Linked DNA regions of Homo sapiens: region 1 is linked to region 2. Evidence: promoter capture Hi-C in 16 types of primary human blood cells and fetal thymus (Javierre and others, 2016). All regions are on one chromosome and are shown on one strand. Each heading gives the region's core, a stretch centred on a gene start or on the middle of the fragment in contact. The rest is flanking DNA. Distances are from core to core; before and after follow the strand shown.

Region 1 (3,430 bases), core at 620-3,119, 770 kb before region 2:
AGGGCTGCCTTCAGCGATGATGATTGACGCTGGCAAGTCAGTCAAGTGGGAAGTTTGCAGCACACACGGCTCAAAGGACTCACCCAGTTTGCCCTGTTGGAGGATGTTAACCTTTGCACACTATTTTTGACATTTAATTTTTCCTTCCATTTAGTGCATGACTCTTTTTTTGTCTTTCTAGTAAATTCATTTAGTTAGTATTATTCTTTGCCTATTTTGTCTTTTAAACTTCTGGTTTTTAATCTTTCGTATTTTATATTATTTATTCTTGGTGTTCATGCTTCTTATTCTCTTTTCTGCTATTTTATCTTATTGTTGTGATAATAGTATATTTGCAGTAAGCTCCTTTTACTAACTTCATTTATTTCTACATAATGTTTTATCTGGCTTTGACCACAACTATATAAGGGGACAGCAAAGTGGAGCCACAAATGGGAAGATTGTGAAGAGGGCCCTTGACCAAATAAAGAGGAAACCTTTTCCCTGAAGAGGACTTTTCAGCAACCCAACTAATTCACTCATTTTTCTCAAAGTTGAATTTTCTTCCACAAAAACCCCTTGACTTTGTTATTGAGTAGATCCTCAGGCCTAGGAAAATAATGTCTACATCGACCAAGGAGATATCTGAACTACCAGTACTTCCTGCAGCATCTTTGTTTTGGTTGGCCTGGGCAGGTGGTGGGGCACGGGGGTGAAGGGAGGGGTCTGAGGTGGGTAGAAAACAAGGGTATCCCCAGGGCTATGGGAGGAAGGTCTAGTGGACTGGAACCATTGTATCTGTCGATTAGTGGAGGCAATCATATTTGTGATCCTTGAGCTAATGGTCTAGTAAGACTATAAACTTGTTCATAATTAAAGCTGGCAAGAGGGTTCTTACCCCAGGTAATGAGACAAGAGTGAACCACAGGAGGAAGCCAGCACAGAGACCGTATGTAATGAGTCCCTTCATGGGAAAGGGATGGAAAACAGTCCTCAGGCTAGCAGCAGAGGGAGTGCTGTCTGTTGTGGGTCTTGACCTGCTTAAGAGGTCTGACTTGAGGTGAGGCTGAAAGACAGCCCCGCTGGGGGCTTCAAGATAACGATGGACGGATAGAGTTCTCTCACCGCTGAATATCTCCTAAGGCATTAGTAAAACACTATTTAAATATTTCCTCTGTAACTCAGTTGTGCTATTAAAGCTCTGTTTCTCAAAGTAGGTCTGTAGATGTTCTTGAGAGAGTGAGTGTTTCATGAGAATTTTCAAATTTTCTGCTTTCGTTTTGAAGATAATCTTAAAGAAATAAAATCAAAATGTTCTACTACATTATTTTTAGTGCTGAAGGCTGAGTTTGGTGCCAAATGAAGAACAAATAACATCACGGCATGCTATGGAAATGTCGATTTTGCATTAAGTTTGAATAGAGAAAGATGTGGGAAAATTGATCAATTTTGTGGCCCAAAGGTAGTACAGACATCATTAGTTCAAAATGTCTTCTGTCATAGCAGTGGCATATCATGTTGAGAAGTTATTGTGAGACATACCAACTTGAACTGTCATTCAATAGCAGGAAAGAATACTGTTATTTTTATTCAATAGTATTTTTAATGTTAATCTTCAGTATTTTTATTATTATGTACTTATTGTGGTGCACTATTAAATTTATCAGCCCCTCAAACTAATGGATTAGTAGTTAAACAAGCTTATTTACCAAAAACGATTAATCCTACGATAACTTGAAGAAAGACTTAAGATATGCTTCCAGTATTGTTCAAAGTCAAAAGAATCAAGAGGACAGAAAGTGAAGCATAAAACATACAAATAGTAGGTGTATTAAACCCAACGCCAGCAATTTAGTTCCAGCAAAATATCATTTATCACACTGATGTTTTCTATATGAACTCTAGTGGCTTTTGTATGTTTGCTTGTTTTTAATTTGCAGCTTTGCTTGAGTTTTGAAGTAATTTAAGAGCTATATGTATGGGAAATTTATATCTGTTCATTTTGAAGTAACACAATAAAAATAATGTAGAGCAACAGTAGGATTTTATGGGAGTTTTTTTTTATCTTTTAAACATTATTCAAGCTTAAAAAATCTATGACAGAGAATTAATGGGAGGCTTTTATGTCTACTCTTTCAGTCTCAGGCTAACTGGGCCATAACACCTCTTCAGGCTGGGGTTGGGGTAATGGAAGCAATTAATGAAAGACAAGGAAAGAAATCGGGGATGAGTTAGATATTTGTGGACCAGTTCATCCTCTGAATGTGGATAACTACTACTTAGTCACAATCTTGGTGAATTTTGTTTTATTTTGAAAATCTAATATTAGGATATCTGAGTTCTAAGAAAACCAGGAGAGACTTGTAAGTGTTGACAAAACTTAATAGAGTAAAAGTAGATATTGGGGTAGGCGCAGAAAACTGGAAATTTAGGTTCATAGAACTGAGGTGAAATGTGTGTGTGACTGGAACAAACCTGTGTGTGTGTGTGTGTGTGTGAGCTTGTGTATTCATGGTGAAGTTCTCAATAAATTTGCCTACAATTGTGTGTGGCTGGTGGATGGGCTGTCTGGATGAATGGCATCACCCATGCACCAGACTTCTTTCCCTAAAAGTGTTTGTTCTGGGGGCTTTCCTGGTTGTCTCAGGTGTAAGTTCAGATGTACTCTAGGATTTTCTTGAGGTAGAAAACAAGATTCCATGACTGCTTTTCAGGACTGTTACTTTCCATTGCAACCAAATGTTGGAGTGACCATCGTGCTAGCGGGAGGCCAGCACTCTTTCTACTACCTCTCTCACTGTTTATTTCAGTTCTTTCTTGATTGCTGTAAACACATGTATGGCATGGACAGCCAGGTCTTGGTCAGGGTTAATCTAGGAAGGGTGAAAGGCAAAGTGAATCCAGATAGATAGATGTCATTAGAGTGAGAATGCCAGGGATTAATGGCATTTGTGACTTCATGGGGCCTCAGATAGCCACTTTCCAATTTTATGAATGGATACTACATTTACATAGAAAAACAGCATCTGCTCTCCCCAGTGCTTAGCGGTGATCAGTGTAAGTCTTGGAATGCCAGAGGGTGATCAACTGATGCTTTTAGCTGCTTGTAGTTCCTCCGTGTACTGGTCAGCTACAGGGTGGGAGTTCTCTGATATACAGAAACATGCCACGGATGCTGTGGAATGGACTCCTCCGGATGCAGTAACAGGGTGATAGTGCAAGTGCATTATCTGTTCAATGAGCAGCAGCAGTACTACAGGCTTAGGACCCGTTCAATACATTCTCCCTGACTCTATCAGCGAGTGATGGGTGGAACAAAGGTGAACTGGAAAATGGAGAGGCTTTGAGTAATACCTTCCAAAATAAGAATACAAATTGAGATCTGAGGTTTTCCTACTCTACGTTCTTACGATAACCCATAGTTTTCTTTTGTTACCTATAATAGTTTATA
Region 2 (3,299 bases), core at 381-2,880:
GCAAGAGAAAAGGAACTCCTGACTTCAACTTTCATCTACAAAGTTTAACCAGAAAACAAATATAAAAGGTCATGAAAACTTTAGACAAATAGAAGGTCACAAGAAAGACCAAGAAATCACGAAGATCATAAACCTGGAGGACATTATGTTACATGAAATAAGACAGGCACAGAGAGACAAACACCACATGATCTCACATATGTAATCTAAAAAAGTGGAAATCAGAAATCACAGAAGCAGAGAGTCGAGTAGTGGTTAGAAGGGACTGAGTGAGGTTGAGGGTAGTTGGGAAGATACTGGTCAAAGGGCACACATTTTAATTAGACAAGAGGAATTCTATTCTACAACACGGTGACTAAAATTAATAACAATGCATTGCATACTTGAAAATTAGTAAGAGTAGATAGTAAGTGTTCTCACCACAAAAAAAAGTAAGTACCTAAGGTAAAGCAAATGTTAATTAGCTCCATTTAGTCACTGTAGACACATTTCAAACATCATGTTGTACACTATAAGTATATACATTTTTTACTTCTCAATAAATTAATAAAAATCACTTTAATGACAATAAAAAATAATAGGAAGATTTTAGCTCTCAAGACTAACCAAAAACCGTATTCCTCATTAAGCTACAATTCCAACTCAGAGCAGCACATTTTATTTAAACAACTTTATGCTGCCTTACACCTGTATTTAAGAACTCAAAGGTACTTCAAAATGACGACACTATATCTAACACCATTACTGGTACCATCTACAGTGTCATGAATCTCTATCATGCTTCTTTGTGTTGTATATATTACTATTAGTTTTTGCAAATAACTGGTGAAAAAAGAAAATAAACAAAGGGGAATGTCCCAAAACCTAGATTCCTGTACTACTCTGGCTAAATGTTTTCAAGAAAGATAAGTTGGTCAAGTGTCTAAAAGGTACATATAACTTCTGCCCACTTAATAGTATTATAAATTATTGAACTTTGTTGTGACAGTTTAGGTTCTTCATAAACTTTGATAACTGTGTTAGTTATAACTGATGGAGTCAACTGATGGTGAAAACGAAGAGCCTCCCAACTGTACACGATTGTTTTATTTCCCCCAAGGAGTCCAAAAGGCAGATGCAGATAGCGGGCAAGTGCTCGAGCTATTTTCTCGCTCACTACCTTCTGGATAAGTCTTTCTGGATAAGACTCAGCATGGCTTGTGGTCGGCAGCAAGTTATAGAACCCCCAGAGAAGGATCCAGAGACCCCGCGGCCCCTTCCCGCCCTGTGCCGTCACCTCCCCGCTTCCCCGCGTCTCCCTGGACACCTGAGCCTTCGTCCGCGCGGGGAGCCGCTTTGGTGGCACGCCGGGAGCTCGCCCAGACCCGGCCCCGGCCACGAGGGCCCCGAACCCGGTGGGGCAGTCCCGCCACCTGCGCGCGGCCTCCTCCAGAGGGCGGCTCTTCCTCCGCAGAACCCGGGACCGGAAGTTCCCTCGGCGCCCCAGGCTCAGCAGGCGACTCCTCGGCGCCATCGCTGTCGCTGGAATCAGCCGCGCGCTGCCGAAAAGTCCTTTTCGGCCTGTGAGCCATGGCCGAGGCCCGAGCGCCCGGCGCCCTAGAACCCGCTGAACCGCAAGCCGCAGCTTCAGTGCCCGCCCCCTAGGGCGCGCTCCCGCCGCGCCTGGCCGCCGAGTGCGCGCGCCCGTCCCGCCTGCCTTCTGCTCACCGCTACTCTGTCTGCGCCTGCGTGCTTTGGCTCCCTGGATCTGGTAGGCCGAGTTCTGTTCTGGGGCCTGAGTTTGCAAAGCATTCCCTTTGCCAGGTTAGGTTGCGTGGACTGACACCTTAGAGATTTTCACGGCCTATCCGGTCTGAGTCCCACGGAGAGCAGAACTCACGTGCTGTCCTTGTGCAAACCCCATCCAGAAATCAAGCGTTATGCTTTCCGTCCTGGACTGGAGCCAGATCCGTTGTCTTTTACTTTCTGGAGAGAGTGCCCCCTCCAACCAAGATTTAAAACAAACGAAACCCCAGCAGTGTGAGGCTCGGGGTAGGAGGAGATGCCTTTGAGAACAAAACCATAAAGTCTGTACATAAACAATGCATACAGACTAGCAAAAATCAAATGACTTCCCCCAGGCAGCAGGGCTTCAAGAGAGCCTGGTTAAATGTTTTCACCCTTAAAGAAACTATCTAAAAACAAAAAGCTATTGTCTGACGCAAATTTGTTCTATATTCATCAAGCTCTGTCTACTACTGTATCTGTATGGTAGAAATACTATATAATGTTGAGCTACTGCACACCTGTTATCAACTCCATGTTTAGTGGCGTCATATTGAGAGGTGACAGCGGGCCAGCTGGAGTTCCGGGTGGGCATGGGCTTGGCGGGCCTGCACTCGGAGCAGCCGGCCGGCCCTGCCAGCCCCGGGCAGTGAGGGACTTGGCACCCGGGCCAGCGGCTACAGAGGGTGTACTGGGTCCCCTAGCAGTGCCGGCCCACCGGCGCTGTGCTCGATTTCTCGCCGGGCCTTAGCTGCCTTCCCGCGGTGCAGGGCTCGGGACCTGCAGCCCGCCATGCCTGAGCCTCCCATCCACTCCATGGGCTCCTGTGCTGCCCGAGCATCCCCGACGAGCACCACCCCCTGCTCCACGGCGCCCAGTCCCATCGACCACCCAAGGGCTGAGGAGTACGAGCGCACGGCGCCGGACTGGCAGGCAGCTCCACCTGCAGCCCCGGTGCGGGATCCACTAGGTGAAGCCAGTTGGGCTCCTGAGTCTGGTGGGGACATAGAGAGTCTTTATGTCTAGCTCAGGGATTGTAAATACACCAATCAGCACTCTGTATCTGGCTCAAGGTTTGTAAACACACCAATCAGCACCCTGTGTTTAGCTCAAGGTTTATGAGTGCACCAATCGACACTCTGTATCTAGCTGCTCTGGTGGGGCCTTGGAGAACCTTTATGTCTAGCTCAGGGATTGTAAAAACACCAATCGGCACTCTGTATCTAGCTCAAGGTTTGTAAACCCACCAATCAGCACCCTGTGTTTAGCTCAAGGTTTGTGAGTGCACCAATAGACATTCTATCTAGCTGCTCTGGTGAGGCCTTGGAGAACCTGTGTGTGGAAACTCTGTATCTAACTAATCTGATGGGGATGTGGAGAACTTTTGTATCTAGCTCAGGGATTGTAAACGCACCAATCACGGCCCTGTCAAAACAGGCCGCTGGGCTCTACCAATCAGCAGGATGTGGGTGGGGCCAGATAAGAGAATAAAAGCAGGCTGCCCCAGCCAGCAGTGGCAACCCGCTCCGGTCCCC

The links. The method cuts DNA at HindIII sites, captures the fragments that hold promoters and counts their contacts. A CHiCAGO score of 5 or more calls a contact.
Region 1: a contact is called between a fragment that was not itself captured here and the fragment with the promoter of GCFC2 in region 2, in 1 of 17 cell types (naive CD8 T cells). The highest score is 5.3, in naive CD8 T cells.

What each region holds. Positions count from the first base shown.
Region 1 is chr2:74,941,479-74,944,908 of GRCh38, forward strand. LINC01291 (long intergenic non-protein coding RNA 1291) reads left to right here. Exons shown (of 5, transcript NR_189601.1): 5 at 1-2,016. The region is part of intron 1 of LOC105374809 (a long non-coding RNA gene); the gene reads right to left. Among named protein-coding and RNA genes, the nearest start is that of POLE4, 15 kb to the right of the region's middle. The HindIII fragment of the contact is 384 bases long and covers 1,678-2,061 here.
Region 2 is chr2:75,709,285-75,712,583 of GRCh38, forward strand. GCFC2 (GC-rich sequence DNA-binding factor 2) reads right to left here and starts at 1,631. Exons shown (of 17, transcript NM_003203.5): 1 at 1,307-1,631. The coding sequence starts at 1,571. LOC105374813 (a long non-coding RNA gene) reads left to right here and starts at 1,655. Exons shown (of 3, transcript XR_940260.2): 1 at 1,655-1,750. RefSeq lists a silencer at 1,163-1,462 and an enhancer at 2,441-3,012. The HindIII fragment of the contact is 8,873 bases long and covers 1-3,299 here.